Regions from separate parts of the Homo sapiens genome. Here region 2 is linked to region 1. The links are contacts of gene promoters, found by promoter capture Hi-C in human tissues and cell types (Jung and others, 2019). All regions are on one chromosome and are shown on one strand. Each heading gives the region's core, a stretch centred on a gene start or on the middle of the fragment in contact. The rest is flanking DNA. Distances are from core to core; before and after follow the strand shown. Region 1 holds the start of LGI3 (leucine rich repeat LGI family member 3). Region 2 overlaps SLC39A14 (solute carrier family 39 member 14).

Region 1 (7,071 bases), core at 3,299-5,798:
CCTGCACAGCTGTATGTTGCATCCCTGCTCCTCTAAGCCTCCCACAATCCAAGGCTTTTATTTTCTTATAAATAACAATAAATGAGTGTGGCTCTGCTATATACTACTATATGCTATATATTCCTTACTCGAAACTTTCAAAATCCCCTCCCGCTGATTGGACTTTAATGTAGAGTCCAATCAAACATACATTTAAAAAGCACAGGCTGGGCATGGTGGCTCACACCTGTAATCCCAACACTTTGGGAGGCTGAGGTGGGCAGATCACAAGGTCAAGAGTTTGAGACCAGCCTGGGCAACGTGGTGAAATCCCATCTCTACTAAAAATACAAAAATTACCCAGGCATGGTGGCGCACACCTGTGGTCCCAGCACTTGGGAGGCTTAGGCAGGAGAATCGCTTGAACCCGGGAGGCAGAGGTTGCAGTGAGCGGAGATCACGCCATTGCACTCCAGCCTGGGCAACAGAGTGAGACTCCGTCTCAAAAAAAAAAAAAAAAAAAGCACATGTTGGCCGCGCACAGTGGCTCAGGCCTGTAATCTCAGCACTTTGGGAGGCAGAGGCGAGTGGATCAACTGAGGTCGGGAGTTCAAGACCAGCCTGACCAACATGGAGAAACCCCATCTCTATTAAAAATATAAAATTAGCCAGGTGTGGTGGTGCATGCCTGTAATCCCAGCTACTCAGGAGGCTGAGGCAGGAGAATTGCTTGAACCTGGGAGGCAGAGGTTGCCGCGACCTGAGATGGCACCACTGCACTTCAGCCTGGGTGACAGAGCGAGACTCTGTCTAAAAAAAAAAAAAATTTTTTAAAGTACTTTTTTTTTTTTTTTTTTAATATTTTGAGACTGAGTTTTGCTCTTGTCGCCCAGGCTGGAGTGCAATGGCATGATCTTGGCTTACTGCAACCTCTGCCTCCCAGGTTGAAGTGATTCTCCTGCCTCAACCTTCCAAGTAGCCAGGATTACAGGCGCCCGCCACCACACCCAGATAATTATTGTATTTTTAGTACAGACGGCGTTTCACCATGTTGGCCAGGCTGGTCTGGAACTCCTGACCTCAGGTGATTCGCCCTCCTTGGCCTCCCAAAGTGCTGGGATTACAGGCGTGAGCCACCACACCCAGCCTTTTTTTGGCTGAGCACGGTGGCTCAGCACATTTTTGGCTGAGCGCGGTGGCTCACACCTGTACTCCCAGCACTTTGGGAGGCTGAAGTTGGCAGATCACAAGGTTAGGAGCTCGAGACCAGTCTGGCCAACATGGTGAAACCCCGTCTATACTAAAAATACAAAAAATTAGCCGGGCGTGGTGGCGCACACCTATAGTCCCTTAGTCCCAGCTACTCCAGAGGCTGAGGAAGAATCGCTTGAACCTGAGAGGTGGAGGTTGCAGTGAGCCGAGATTGTGCCACTGTACTCCAGCCTGGGTGACAGAGTGAGACTCCGTCTATAATTAAAAAAAAAAAAAAACACACACACACATTTTGAAAACATACACACATGGTGTCTCAGGTGCACTTTGAGAGAAACTCCAATTTGGAAGGCTACCATCTATATCTAACTCCACCTCCTCACCTCCTCAGGGTCCCCCCACCCAAGCCTTCCCAGCCTCTCAAGACCTTATGACCATCCCAATTCTGACTCCCACACCACTCCCTCCAGGGATGCGCCCTCTGCGGCACTGTTGGAAGAGGCAGGACTCAGGCCTTACAAGTCATTCAGGATGTCCAGGGGCCGGAAGATGTCTCTGGGCAGTGTCTGCAGGTTATTGTTGGCCAGCGAGCTGCAAAAGAGACCGCCAGGTCATCTGAAGATCATGAGCAAGGCCAAAGGCCACAGGAGAGGTGGGGCTTTGGTGCAGTGTGTGTATGTGTGACGTACTCACAGGTGAGTCAAGGACTTGAGTCCTCGGAAGGTGAACTTGGATAGTGCCCAGATGTCATTGTTCTCAATGAAGCTGGGGAAAGCGGGAACTTGCCTCAGTGCTCACACAGGATGCCAGACCCCCAGCAGCACTCGCCCTACGCCCCAGCCTAGATTTCAGCCCGTGTCCCCGAGACAGGTTTCCAAATGGAGTCTGGCATCACCAAGCCATAGAGATAGAGCATCAGGTAGGGTAGAGGCAAAATGAATGAAACGACCTTCTGCTCAGGTCCTGCCATCACGGGATGCAAGGGCTCTCGCCTCCCATCACCTTCCCTTCCTGCGGCATTCTCATCCACTCCCTACCCAGTCCCTCGGCCTCCCAGGCCTGGGGTCCCCCTCCCTTCTGCTTTCCCATTGCCCCTTTCCCTCCCACACACAGATACTGCAGGTGCGACAGTCCTGTGAAGGCGTTGTCTCCAATCAGTGTAAACTTGTTGGAGTTGAGTAACCTGCAGAGACAAAGGTGGAATTAGAGCTTCCAAGGGTGTGCCTGCTGCCCCAGCCCCCAGCCCGCTGCCTCAGCCCTGGGCTTCCCCAAGACATGACTGCCCTGCTGCTACCCCTGGGGACCCCATGGGGAATCCCTGGGCCACCTGGGCAACAAGGCCAGGCAGGAGCCTGTTCTGGCCCCAGAAGCTCCCAGGGTCCCTGTTGGATCCTAAACATGGGCCAAGGCAGAGCTCTCTTGTCAAGCCAGCTCCTGGTCCTCCCGGGTGGCATCTCCTCTCCCTCTCCCCCACCCTCATTCTGTCCCATTCCAGCCCCTCATGGACAACTGTCCCTCATGGACGGCATCTTGTAGGGTTGGAGACACTCCTGCCATCCCTTTCTTTCAGCCCCCAGCTCTTTCTGGGAACTCTGATTCCTGGGATCACCTGTCTCTAAGATGGCCCCACAGTGCCCACCTTGGGCACTAGCCCAGGCTATCGCACCCAATTCTCTGGGGTTTCCAGAGCAGCCAAGCCCATCCCCGCATCCCACTTGCTTGGCTTCTCTGTGCCATCCCTAGCTGTCCTCCTGCTGCCCCGACTCCCCTGACTCAAGGCTGCCCCGTCTTTTGGGTACATCCTATCAGAACAAAAGCAAGGGACACCTGCATCTTCGTCTGCAGAGGCTGCCTCTGTCCACTCTCCCTCTCCCCAGCCCAGGATTTGTCCCCTGCTACCACCCCATAGTTCCCCCAACCCTTCCACAAGGCCCTATCCATACAAGAACTGCAGCAGCGGGAGGTGGGAGAACGCTCCATCCTGGATCTCTGAGAAGGCGGCATTCACCAGGGTCCTGCGGGGACACCCGAGTCAGTACTGTGGGGTCTGCAAGGGCTGTGCTGAGGCAGGGAGAGGTGAACACGGAGGGCAGTAGCTTTTGTACTCACTTGCCCTGGAAATGCCCCATTTCACCTAATTTAGCCCCCATCTGTGTGTCTTTCCCTTCTCCTCCCAAATTCACTGCCTGCCTTCACCAGGGTCCTCCCCTATTGCCTCTTGGGGCACCCATGGCCCCAGGCTCAGCTTCCCTCTCAGGCAAGAAAAGGTTCCATCACCCACACCGTTGTCATCATCATCCAAACACCCACAATGGGCTGGGTGCTGTTGAGAGATGGGGCATGGGGGTGGGGGCTGGCATCCTGGTCCCCAAGGACCTCACAACCTCTCTGGTCCCACAGACAAGGGGGAGCCCCTGAGGCTGGCTGTTGTGAGTGACAGGCTGGCCGAGCTGAGTGCCAAGTGGCTGGTCAGTGGCGGGCATGTGCCCCATGCCAGGGTGCTGGGAGGGCATAGCTCATTCTCATCCTGCTCTGGCCGCCACTCTCCTGCCCTTGGTGTGACATCACAGGCAGGGGCCCACATGCTCGTGTAAGCAACCCCCCCAAGTCTGGAGCACAGCACACAGTAGGTCTCACTGTCGCTCGTGGTGATGATGATTCATTCTTGGTGGTGAACTCCTGCTTTCCCCACCCATGGCCGCTGAGCCTGCAAAACTGCAGAACTCCCTGCCCGACTGGTGCCTGGAATCTCCAGCCCTGAGGACCCCTGCAGTCCCCCTGGTCCCCGCACTCTGAAGAGGGGGAGCGGGGGTTCTCCTGTCCTCTCCCAGAGCTGTCCTCGGCCTCCTCTCCCTCCCCAACCCCCAAGGCCAGGGCTGGACACTCACAGGGAGATGACCTCCGAGGGCAGGTTCCTGGGCACCGCCTTTGAGTCCACGCAGAAGGCGGTGTCCCTGGTGCAAGAGCAGCTGGGCGGGCAGGGGGGCGTCTTGGGGGGCCTCTTAGCGCTGACTTGCAGCATGAGGCAGAAGCCGAGCGCGGAGAGCGCCAGCAGCCCCGGCCCCGGGCCCCCCCTGGCCCGCAGCCCCGCCATGCTGCCCGCGATCTCTCCCTGGGGCCGGCGGCCGCGGCCCCCGCCCCACCGCTCCCGCGGCTGGGCCACCCCGCGCGGGCTGGCACCTCCCTGCCACCGGCAGCTGCTACCGCAGCCAGGGGCCCGCCTGCGGACTCCTCCTGCCCTCGGGCGCCGGCTGCGGTCCCCTCCCCTGCTCGCTCCCGCGATCCGGCTCGGGAGAGAAGAGCGGAGCGCGGAGCTGGAGCCGCAGCCGGGGCTGACCGCGCCGGGTGGCTGCGGACTGCGGCGCGGGCGGCGGGGGCGCGCGCGGGGCGGCGCGGGGCCTGGGAGTCACGGAAGGGGAGGCGTGGCCGCTGTGTGCTCTACCGGGCGGTCTCTGGGGCCATCCGCGTGTGGGGCTGCGCGTGAGTGCATGCGTGTGAGCTTGTGCTTGTGCCTCTGCTGGGCACGACTGTGCGCGCCGGTGCTCACCTGTCTCTGCACGGGCACATGCACTCACTGCCTTGTGGAGGCGCTTCGGCGTTAGGGATCCCTGTGCTTCTGTCTACCTGGGTTTCTTTGCATGGGGGGACACATCCCCTAGGCAGCATCATGGGCATGTCGTGAGTGACAGACGCATATCTAAGTTAGCATGCAAGATTAGAAGCACAAGGGCGTCCTGGAGGAGTCTGAAGTGCGCTTCTAACCGGATTCACATGTTTTTCCACGCGCCGCTGAACAGAATGTACCTTTGTGTCAGCATGAGCTGAAAAGGGAAACGCAGCCTCTGGAGCTGGAGTGGGACTGTGTGGAATTCTGGAACATTTCTCACGCTCAACCACAGCCTGTTAAAGCTGGGAAGCGCTTTGGATATTTTTCAGTCCAGCCCTTTGTCTAACAAATGAGGAAACTGAGGCCCCCTAAGCTTGCTATCGCAAGTGCTCTGTACTTTCCCTACTTAATCCTCTCAATCGTTTGAGGCAGGTGATAGTAATTCCCTTTTACAGACAAGAAAAGTGAGGCCTGTCGCACCAGAAGAAAAAGGTATCAGCAGGGATTTCCGCCCACTCTGCCCAGCTTCAAGGTTCACGGTCGTCCTTCCATGCACGGCTCTTCCAAGTGTAGCCCTGGGAGCCCGGGGGTCCTTGAGAACCTTTCAGGAAGTCTCTGAGGTAAAAACAATTTTCCTAATATTGTTAAGACATGATTTGCCCTTTTCACTTCTATGAAGCTCCAAATTTAAAAGATTTCCAAAACTGTAAAGAAATGACACTTTCTCTCTAATTTTATTTTGCTTTGTAAAATAATTTTGCTTTGTAAAATCGTTTTTCCATTAAAAATGTGATTTATGTCATAACCTATATTGGGTTTATTACTGATATTTTAAATTCACATGTAAATAAAAATGTAATTTCTCAGTAAATATCAACAGACATATCCCACATAAACAAAAGCTCTTGGGGGTCCTCAATACTTTTTGAGAGTGTTAAGGGGTCCTGAAAACAAAAAGCTTGAAGACTGCTGCTCTCTACCACGTTAGCTCCCCTGTGGCGGAGGATGACTGTCCTAAGAGCTCATAGGCACGGGGCAAGGGGAGCCTGGCTGTCAGCTGCCTGGGCTTCTAGTCTTGTGCTTTTTGCACACCAGTCCAGGGAACGAAGACCACTGGCTTTAAGATGCTTCCCCAGCTGTCCCCAGACTCTGCCAGCAGGGGATTCTCTGGTCTGAGCTTAAGTTGTGTTCTCCCAGCCAGGGATGCCCCTGCCCTTTGATGTCTCCTTGCTGCCACACATTTAGCCGCCCTCCCCATGCCAGCTTGGGGGGAGGGAAGCAGTGAGGGTAGGGAGGTGGCTGGGGCAGCTGGGCAACTGTCCCCACCCGTCCCTGGCACGGCTCTGCCCAGTACACAAAGAGCAAAGTGAATCTTGTCCCCACCCCTGCAGCTGAGGGGCTGGAGGAGGAAACGGGGAGGCCCACACAGAAGGGGTGGCCACCGTGGGGCTGTCCATCACTCAGGGCTCTCAGAGGGAGTCAACCCAGAAACAGACAAAGAGGGTGAGTCTGGGCTGTGTTCTTAGCTAGTGAGAGGTCCCCTAGAGGATGAAGTAGATGATGCTAATGAGGATGACTGGATGTCACACCCATGATGCTATTAGGTCCTCATAATAGCATAGTGAGGTGGACAGCTAGTACCTGACCCATCTCACAGATGAACATACTAATGCCTAACAAAGCAGAACGACTCACGCTGGGTCCCAGAGCTGGCCAGTGGAAGCACTGAGACCTCCACATACTGAAGGCATGGACTATTGACCGCTGTTGGTATTGGTCTCATCATTGACTATCATTAAGTGTTGGCTGTTTGCATGCTTCCTGCCCAGTGGCAGGTTCAAAGAAGCCCGCAGGAAGCGTGCTCCTTTCTTTCCCAGGGCCCGCAATTGGGCTGGAAGATAGAGCAACAAAAAGCGCCCATGTAACTCATGGGAACATTCATGTGTGCTGAATGGCAGGTGAAGGTGCCACAGAGAGGCTGAGGATTTCAGAGGGCACCATGAACTGGAGTGAGGTCGCAGAGCAGGTGCCATTGGCTCTTGGCCTGTTTGGGTGGGTGGCATTCAGAGAGGTGGAAGGTCAGATGCACTGTTCACGCCTGTAATCTCAGCACTTTGGAAGGCCAAGGTAGGAGGATCACACGAGGCCAGGAGATCAACGCTGCAGTGAGCTATGAAGCTGTGATTGCACCACTGCACTGCAGCTTGGGTAACAGAGTGAGACCCTGTCTCTAAATAATTAAATAAATAAAATAAAAATAAAACCGGAGAAGT
Region 2 (7,054 bases), core at 3,466-5,965, 260 kb after region 1:
AGGCCAGGAAGGCAGGAGCCCATCTCCCATCTCGCCCGCGTCTCACAAGGACCCCTGGGCTGAGCTGCTGCTGCTCCTCACTGAATGCCTCACCAGTGATGACCAGGATGAGGTTGTCGGTGTCAGGAGCGGGAGCGATGATTGGATGGATAATTTTTGTATTTTGCAAGGATGGCCTAGCACATTGTCAGACTCCTGGGCCGTAGCTGGCGAATGTTCAGAGCGTTGGACTTCTTGAGCGGCCTATGGATCCCTTTTTGGTCTGCTTTTTGTTTCATGTTGAACCACGGGGGCCCAACCCTTTGGCTTTTTTAATCTTTTTTTTTTTTTTTTCTGAGATAGGATGTCGCTCTGTCTCCGAGGCTGGAGTCCAGTGGTGCAATCATAGCTCACTGCAGCCTTGACCTTTTGGCCTGAAGTGACCCTCCTGCCTCAGCCTCCTGAGTAGCTGGGACTACAGGCGTGCACCGCCATGCCCAGCTAATTTTTAAATTTTTTGTAGAGACACGGTCTCACTATGTTACCCAGGCTGGTCTCAAACTCCTGGGCTCAAGTGATCCTCCTGCCTCGGCCTCCCAAAGTGCTGGGATCACAGGCATGAGCCACCATACCTGGCCTACTTTGGTTTTATAGTTTTTCCTTTAAGACCTCCCGGAGGCTGCACTTGGCCCCTGAATCCTTCTTCCCCTCCCTATCCCGGTATCCCTGATCCAGCCACAGTGGGCTTGCCACGAGCTGTGAGTGTACACCCTGATAGCCCTAAGCCCCATAGGGCCGGCGTGTGCTGCCTGAGTGTCGGCACCCGGAATATACTGTCTGTGTTACTGCAAGTCCCTGTTTTCTGCTGTCGTTATTTACTTGTATGGCTTTTTTTGTTTTTTTTGTTTGTTTGTTTTGAGACAGACTTTCGCTCTTGTTGCCCAGGCTGAAGTGCGGTGGTGCAATCTCGGCTCACTGCAACCTCCGCCTCCTGGGTTCAAGCGATTCTCCTGCCTCAGCCTCCTGAGTAGCTGGGATTTCAGGCACGCGCCACCACGCCCAGCTAATTTTTTGTATTTAGTAGAGATGGGGTTTCACCATGTTAGTCAGGCCGGTCTCGAACTCCTGACCTCAGGTGATCCACCTTCCTCAGCCTCCCAAAGTGCTGGGATTATAGGCTTGCGCCACCGCACCTGGCCTACTTGTATGGTTTTTAGGCTTCCATTGCTGTTTGCATCCGTCTCTCCATGGAAAAGGTGTTTCTCTTGGATAGCAATTTTGATAGTTTCCCTAGGCTTCTCCGCAGCATCTGGTGAGAGATGGACTCAGCAAATGTTTACTGATGGGTTGGTGGATCTCAGTCTGCCCCATCACACCTGAATTCAGAACAGGGCCGCCCCAGGCAGCAGGAGTGTCCCCACCCTCAGTAATAGAGGCCCTCGTCTGTTCTTGTTCCTCCACAGTGTGGGGCTTTGGTTTTCTCAGTGTCTCACTGATTAACCTGGCCTCTCTCCTGGGAGTCCTCGTCCTGCCCTGCACAGAGAAAGCGTTTTTCAGCCGTGTGCTCACTTACTTCATCGCCCTGTCCATTGGAACGCTGCTGTCTAACGCGCTATTCCAGCTCATCCCAGAGGTGCAGTAGAACAGAAACTTGCGCGTCCTCTTTCCCTGGGGCGGCACAGCTGAGCCAATCCCCTCCTCCCCTACCCTGGGCTCCAAGGCACCCAATGACTGCCACCTGAGAAATGAACCTGTCCCTCGTATCAAAGCCACAAACGACTTCTAACTCTGGATCTCAGGGCCCACCTCTCACTCCTCTGGCCTCTGCAGGTGCTGTCAGATGCAAGGTTCTTCCAATTTCCCTCCTCCTGGGGACTTGACAGTCTCCCCTCCCTTGTTAAGCCCCATACATAAGGCATCAAGGGAAAGCAGCAGCTATCGACTGCCGTCCATGCCTTTGGTGCTAAGTACTTGCTCTATTCTAAGGAGAAATCCTGGCAGTACTCAGGTCTGGGCACCAAGAGCTTATCCATCTGGAATGAGATGGAAGGAAAAGAGGTTACCAAGTGATATGTAGAATTGGCCTAAAAAGCGAGTGTTCTTTAATTTTGAGCAGGCCATCGTTTCTAGCATAGAGAGCCAAACACAGAACAAAGACTAAGACCAAACAAAATTAAAATGACAAGATAAATGGAAGGGGCACTCAGCCCTTTGTACCTTGCATCTTGACTTTTTTCTGATAGGACTGACTTCCTGGTACCTTGACTTGACTGTTTTGAAATGTTAATTTTGTTGTTTAATTGTTATCATAGAGGAGCTATAAAAATAAGGCCCAAGTTGACAGTCTGCCCACTTTTTTAGCTCAAGCAGGGATGCTGCTGTGGAGGGTGAGGATACGCAGACGTGTGGTTGACCCCATTAGGGAGTCATGGATGCTGCCCTTCACAAAGATCCCATGTCAGCTGCTTCTCAGGCTTTCCCAGTCAAAAGACTCACCCAGAAAAGACAGCAGATGGGATGCCATGCCTTGCCTGTTCTTCCTGGTTGAATGTGAACCATCTTGGTGCCATCTCAAAATTCTGCATGGCTCTGACAAACACTTTGCAGGGGAGGCCTCAACTTGGGCTATTTTTTCAGCTCCAGCAATGGAATATATTAATTTTTTAAAGATTTGAAATGAAAGGCCTTGTGACCTCCTGGAATGGAAATACTGTAATTGTGTGTGCTCCACCCCTGTGGCCTGCCAGGGAGTGTCTCATCCTGGTCTGGTTCTGTCTTGCCCTCTTTTGGGCCTGGACAGAGTGTCACAACTGGGAAATGTTCAAGGAAATATTTTTGTGACAGGGTGTTCCTGGAACTCTGTTCTTTGTGCTTGAGCCCCTCTCAGAGCACATGGAAATGAGCAAAGAAGTTGAGAGGTTAAGACACTGAATTTTATGGGCATTGGGCATGAATTAATCGTTCTCCATCCCTTCTGCCCTGCACATCTGGCTTGGTTGTGTCTTGCACAAAGCAAACCAAGTGGTCGTGGTGTCACCCGAGCCTGCGCCGTGTGAATTGGACATGCAAAAGCAAACGCAGCAGCAGAGTGATCAGCCTCTTTCCACCTGCTTGCATGTCCTATAAAGAGAGCCCTCGAGTCCAAAGTCTGTCCTGGACAGCCTCTGTGATAGGTCTGGGCAGACCTTGGGTGTGTGACGAGGCAGCACCCTGCCCTGCCAGTCACACCACTGGCAGGAACGATTTGGGGCCACCAGTGGCCACAGGGGCAGAAGTCACAGGGTTCCAAGGCCACCTTGAATTCCTCTTTCTTCTGAACTGATTGAAGGAAATTTCATCAGATGTGAATCACTAACAAATTTTCTATTTCTCTCTCCCTCCCTACTTGTCTCTCTCTGATTTTTCTTTTTTGTTCCGTTAATATCCACCAAACTTTTCCTTGCGACCTCCCTATCTGCTCCACCTTCCTCCCGCTAAATGGTGGTTGCTGTGCAATGGGGCATGTGCCTTCTCTCCCTGCCCTGGGTGGGGCTGGCCCTCCCTCCGCACGGCAGTGTGGGGATACGGTCTCCTCTGTGTGACCGTCATCTCCCTCTGCTCCCTCCTGGGGGCCAGCGTGGTGCCCTTCATGAAGAAGACCTTTTACAAGAGGCTGCTGCTCTACTTCATAGCTCTGGCGATTGGAACCCTCTACTCCAACGCCCTCTTCCAGCTCATCCCGGAGGTATGGCAAGCCAGGGCCTTCACCCCGGAGCATGCCGGCGGGCACAGTGGGAGGACCTCCGTTTGGATAGAAGGCATAGAGAGGGCACCTGGAGGCCCTTTCCTTTTGGAAAGCGAAGCTAGAACTTAGGCGTGAACTAGGAGAGGCAGCCCAGCATAGGCTGAAGAGCTGGGTTCAAATCTCAGCTCTGCTATCAGTAGGTTCCGTAACCCCAGGCACACCACTGACCTCACACTGCCTCTGTTTCTTCAGATGTGAAATGGGGAGAGCAATAGACCGGCCTCAGGATGATGTTGTGAGGGTGGAACGAGCGAGTCTGCTGCAGCACTGAGTGCCTGGTGCGGAAAGTGCTGTCTGATGTGGGGTGAAAAGATGCAGTGTAGCGAGCTCACTCTGGCTTAGTTGTGGTGCTCAGATTAAGGCTTTGGGTGCAGAGAAGTTTAAAAAACATCATCAGCCGGGTGCAGTGGCTCACACCTATATTCCCAGCACTTTGGGAGGCTGAGGCAGGTGGATCGTTTGAAGTCAGGAGTTCAAGACCAGCCTGGCCAACATGGTGAAACCCCGTCTATACTAAAAACACAAAAATTAGCCAGACGTGGTAGCGCACGCCTGTAATCCCAGCTATTCGGGAGGCACAAGAATCACTTGAACCCAGGAGATGGAGGCTGCAGTGAGCCGAGATTGCACCACTGCACTCCAGCCTGGGTGACGGGAGTGAGACTCCGTCTCAAAACAAACAAACAAACTCCCACATCATCAGAACCCACAGTTCTCAGTAAAAAGATTGTCCATAGGGAGTTTTGGGGCAAAGGCAATGCAAGTCAAACAATGTCTGGTTTTATATACCTTGATGGTACCTTTGCCTAATAAGTTCATGAGAAAACTTGCCACAAAAGAAGGAGCTGATGGTTCATCTAATTTGGTGTAATCCCCTCAGCAGACCCATTAATTACAATAAGCACAGGACGTCTCCCTGTGGGTGGTCTCGCAGGCCTGGACAGAGCCGCAGTTGAAGCAGAGATGACTGCATGCGCCTCTTACAACACTTGGTGTTTTCTGAAATGTCAGTTGGCTCCCTCCTAGTGGATCCTTAGGTTAACTCCATGGCATCGATAGAACAAGTAACGTTTTACCACGTTGGAATCTGACCTGCACAAGAGCGCATATCCCTGAGTCGAGAACCCAGCTTTTGGGATTTCTGAAGCTCAACCCCATGATTCTGTATTCACCATCCTTTGTGGCTTTTTGCAGAGAAGTGTTCGTTGCCTATTTTCACTTCACTTTTCCCCCAAGATGATTCGACTCCCCTGGAAAGTCAACATGAAAGTGTTGTTTCCCTGGAGGGTGGTGATTCAATTTGGCCTGTTTAAAACATAAAGGCAACAAACAGCCCAGAGTTCCTTGAAGTTGGGATCAACTTTTATTTTGGACCAATTCATGAGAGGGCTGAAGTTTATTCAAGGCCCGTTTCCCATCAGAAAATGGAGGAACAACCCGGTAAATATATATACTTCCTATGTACCCACAAAAAAATTTAAGAATAAAATAGGAGCAAGTCGTTAGATACTTTTTTTTGTTTGTTTTTGAGACAGTCTCACTCTGTCACCCAGACTGGAGTGCAGTGGTGCCATCTCGGCTCACTGCAATCTCTGCCTCCTGGGTTCAAGCCATTCTCCTGCCTCACACTCCCGAGTAGCTGGGATTACAGGTGTGCCACCAGGCCCAGCTAATTTTTGTATTTTTTTTTTTAGTAGAGTTGGGGTTTCGCCATGTTGGCCAGGCTGGTCTCAAAACTCCTGGCCTCAAGTGATCCACCCACCTCGGTCCTTTAAAGTGCATGAGCCACCGTGCCCGGCCAGGTCATTAGACACATTCACAAGAACCCACCATAAATCAGGAGCTTACCCTAGGACAGAATTCTCTTGATTTCTACTCCTGTCCTCTTCCCAGTGGATTCTCCCCTCCCTCTTTGATAAGTGACAGTTTCAGAAAGGACTCAAAACAAAACCCAAAAATTGACGCTCGCAATAACACAGTCCACTTTCTTGGTTCTGTGGTCACTGGGAGGTCTGCGGTTAGGAAAACGCTGCAGTTCTTATTACTTAACTGGGAAATGGGTTTCCCGTTTTAGAAAGTATAATTACACCATCTCCCTTTGTGTTTACAGGCAGGTCAGCCAGGAACACTAGATAAGATGAAAATAAATACAAGTGTCTGCTCCTTCAATATGAAATCTATTGGCAGAGAATGCCTTCATAGCAAAGCACCAAGATAAATCAAAAGTGGAAAACCATATCGGAGGTTTTTCTTTCTGGGATTAAAATTCTACAGATGATCAGTCTTTTGCATCAGCAAATAAGCTTGAGAAGAACCTGGCAGGTTTAGTGATGTCACATCAGGGAAACACCAAGGACTAGATTTTTGCTGGAAAGAGGATGGGTAGACGGCAGAGTTACTCCATTATGCCTCTCTCCTTTCCTAGAGTCAAGGAAGTAGTTAAGAGATAAGAGGGGGATCAGTAAAGATGCTTTATTTTCTTTAAAACTCATTTTCTTTTCCTGGGTCCACAGGCATTTGGTTTCAACCCTCTGGAAGATTATTATGTCTCCAAGTCTGCAGTGGTGTTTGGGGGCTTTTATCTTTTCTTTTTCACAGAGAAGATCTTGAAGATTCTTCTTAAGCAGAAAAATGAGGTGAGGCCCAATTGTTGCTGAAGAAAGCTCTTCTAGGGAAAACACCCATCTCAAACAATGTTGATGTATTGTGGTGGTGGTGGTGATGGTCTTAGCCCAATATCACAATTTCCGTGAAACTCTAATTTCTTGAGGAGACAATCCCATTTCACCTCCTGAGGATATTTGGCCAGAAGTGAGGCCAGACCAGAAACTAGATCTGGCCAGGGTGCCTTCTACTAAGCAGTAGTTTATCCCCTTTGTTTTGTTCTAAGATTATTTCCTTAATATATTTGTATCTTTACAGGATGGGGAGAAGAGCTTGATACCATGCATTCATTCTGTATGAAGTATGAGGCTGCAGAGAAACAGGACTATTATAGTACAGTTTCAAAAAGATATCTTTAGTGGCTGGCATGCAGTTATTCCCTAAATAGCTGCTGAATTGAGTGAGATTAGCCATTGCAAAAGAGGAGCTCTAAATATTTGAGCAGTGGCTGCCTTGGTGGAATAAGCATGTACCCCGAGGAGACAGCTTTGATATCTGTCTGACACCAGGTCCTTCGCACTTGGTGCAGATTTATATATATAGATATTAGAAACGGGGTCTCGCTTCGTTGCCCAGGCTGCTCTCAAACTTCTCAGCTCAAGCAGTCCTCCCACCTCGGCCTCCCAC

Evidence for each region. Contacts are between HindIII fragments. The study calls those that stand out against the background at their distance.
Region 2: a fragment that was not itself captured here is called in contact with the fragment with the promoter of LGI3 in region 1 in 1 of the 25 tissues and cell types used here (liver).

What each region holds. Positions count from the first base shown.
Region 1 is chr8:22,152,258-22,159,328 of GRCh38, forward strand. It overlaps LGI3 (leucine rich repeat LGI family member 3), which reads right to left and starts at 4,549. Exons shown (of 8, transcript NM_139278.4): 1 at 4,080-4,549; 2 at 3,135-3,206; 3 at 2,303-2,374; 4 at 1,885-1,956; 5 at 1,711-1,782. The coding sequence starts at 4,285. It also overlaps a transcript of SFTPC not described here. RefSeq lists an enhancer at 4,582-4,726 and a cis regulatory region at 4,654. The HindIII fragment of the contact is 9,171 bases long and covers 1-5,463 here.
Region 2 is chr8:22,408,504-22,415,557 of GRCh38, forward strand. It overlaps SLC39A14 (solute carrier family 39 member 14), which reads left to right. Exons shown (of 9, transcript NM_001128431.4): 4 at 3,534-3,703; 5 at 6,277-6,399. Among named protein-coding and RNA genes, the nearest start is that of PPP3CC, 29 kb to the right of the region's middle. The HindIII fragment of the contact is 4,546 bases long and covers 2,443-6,988 here.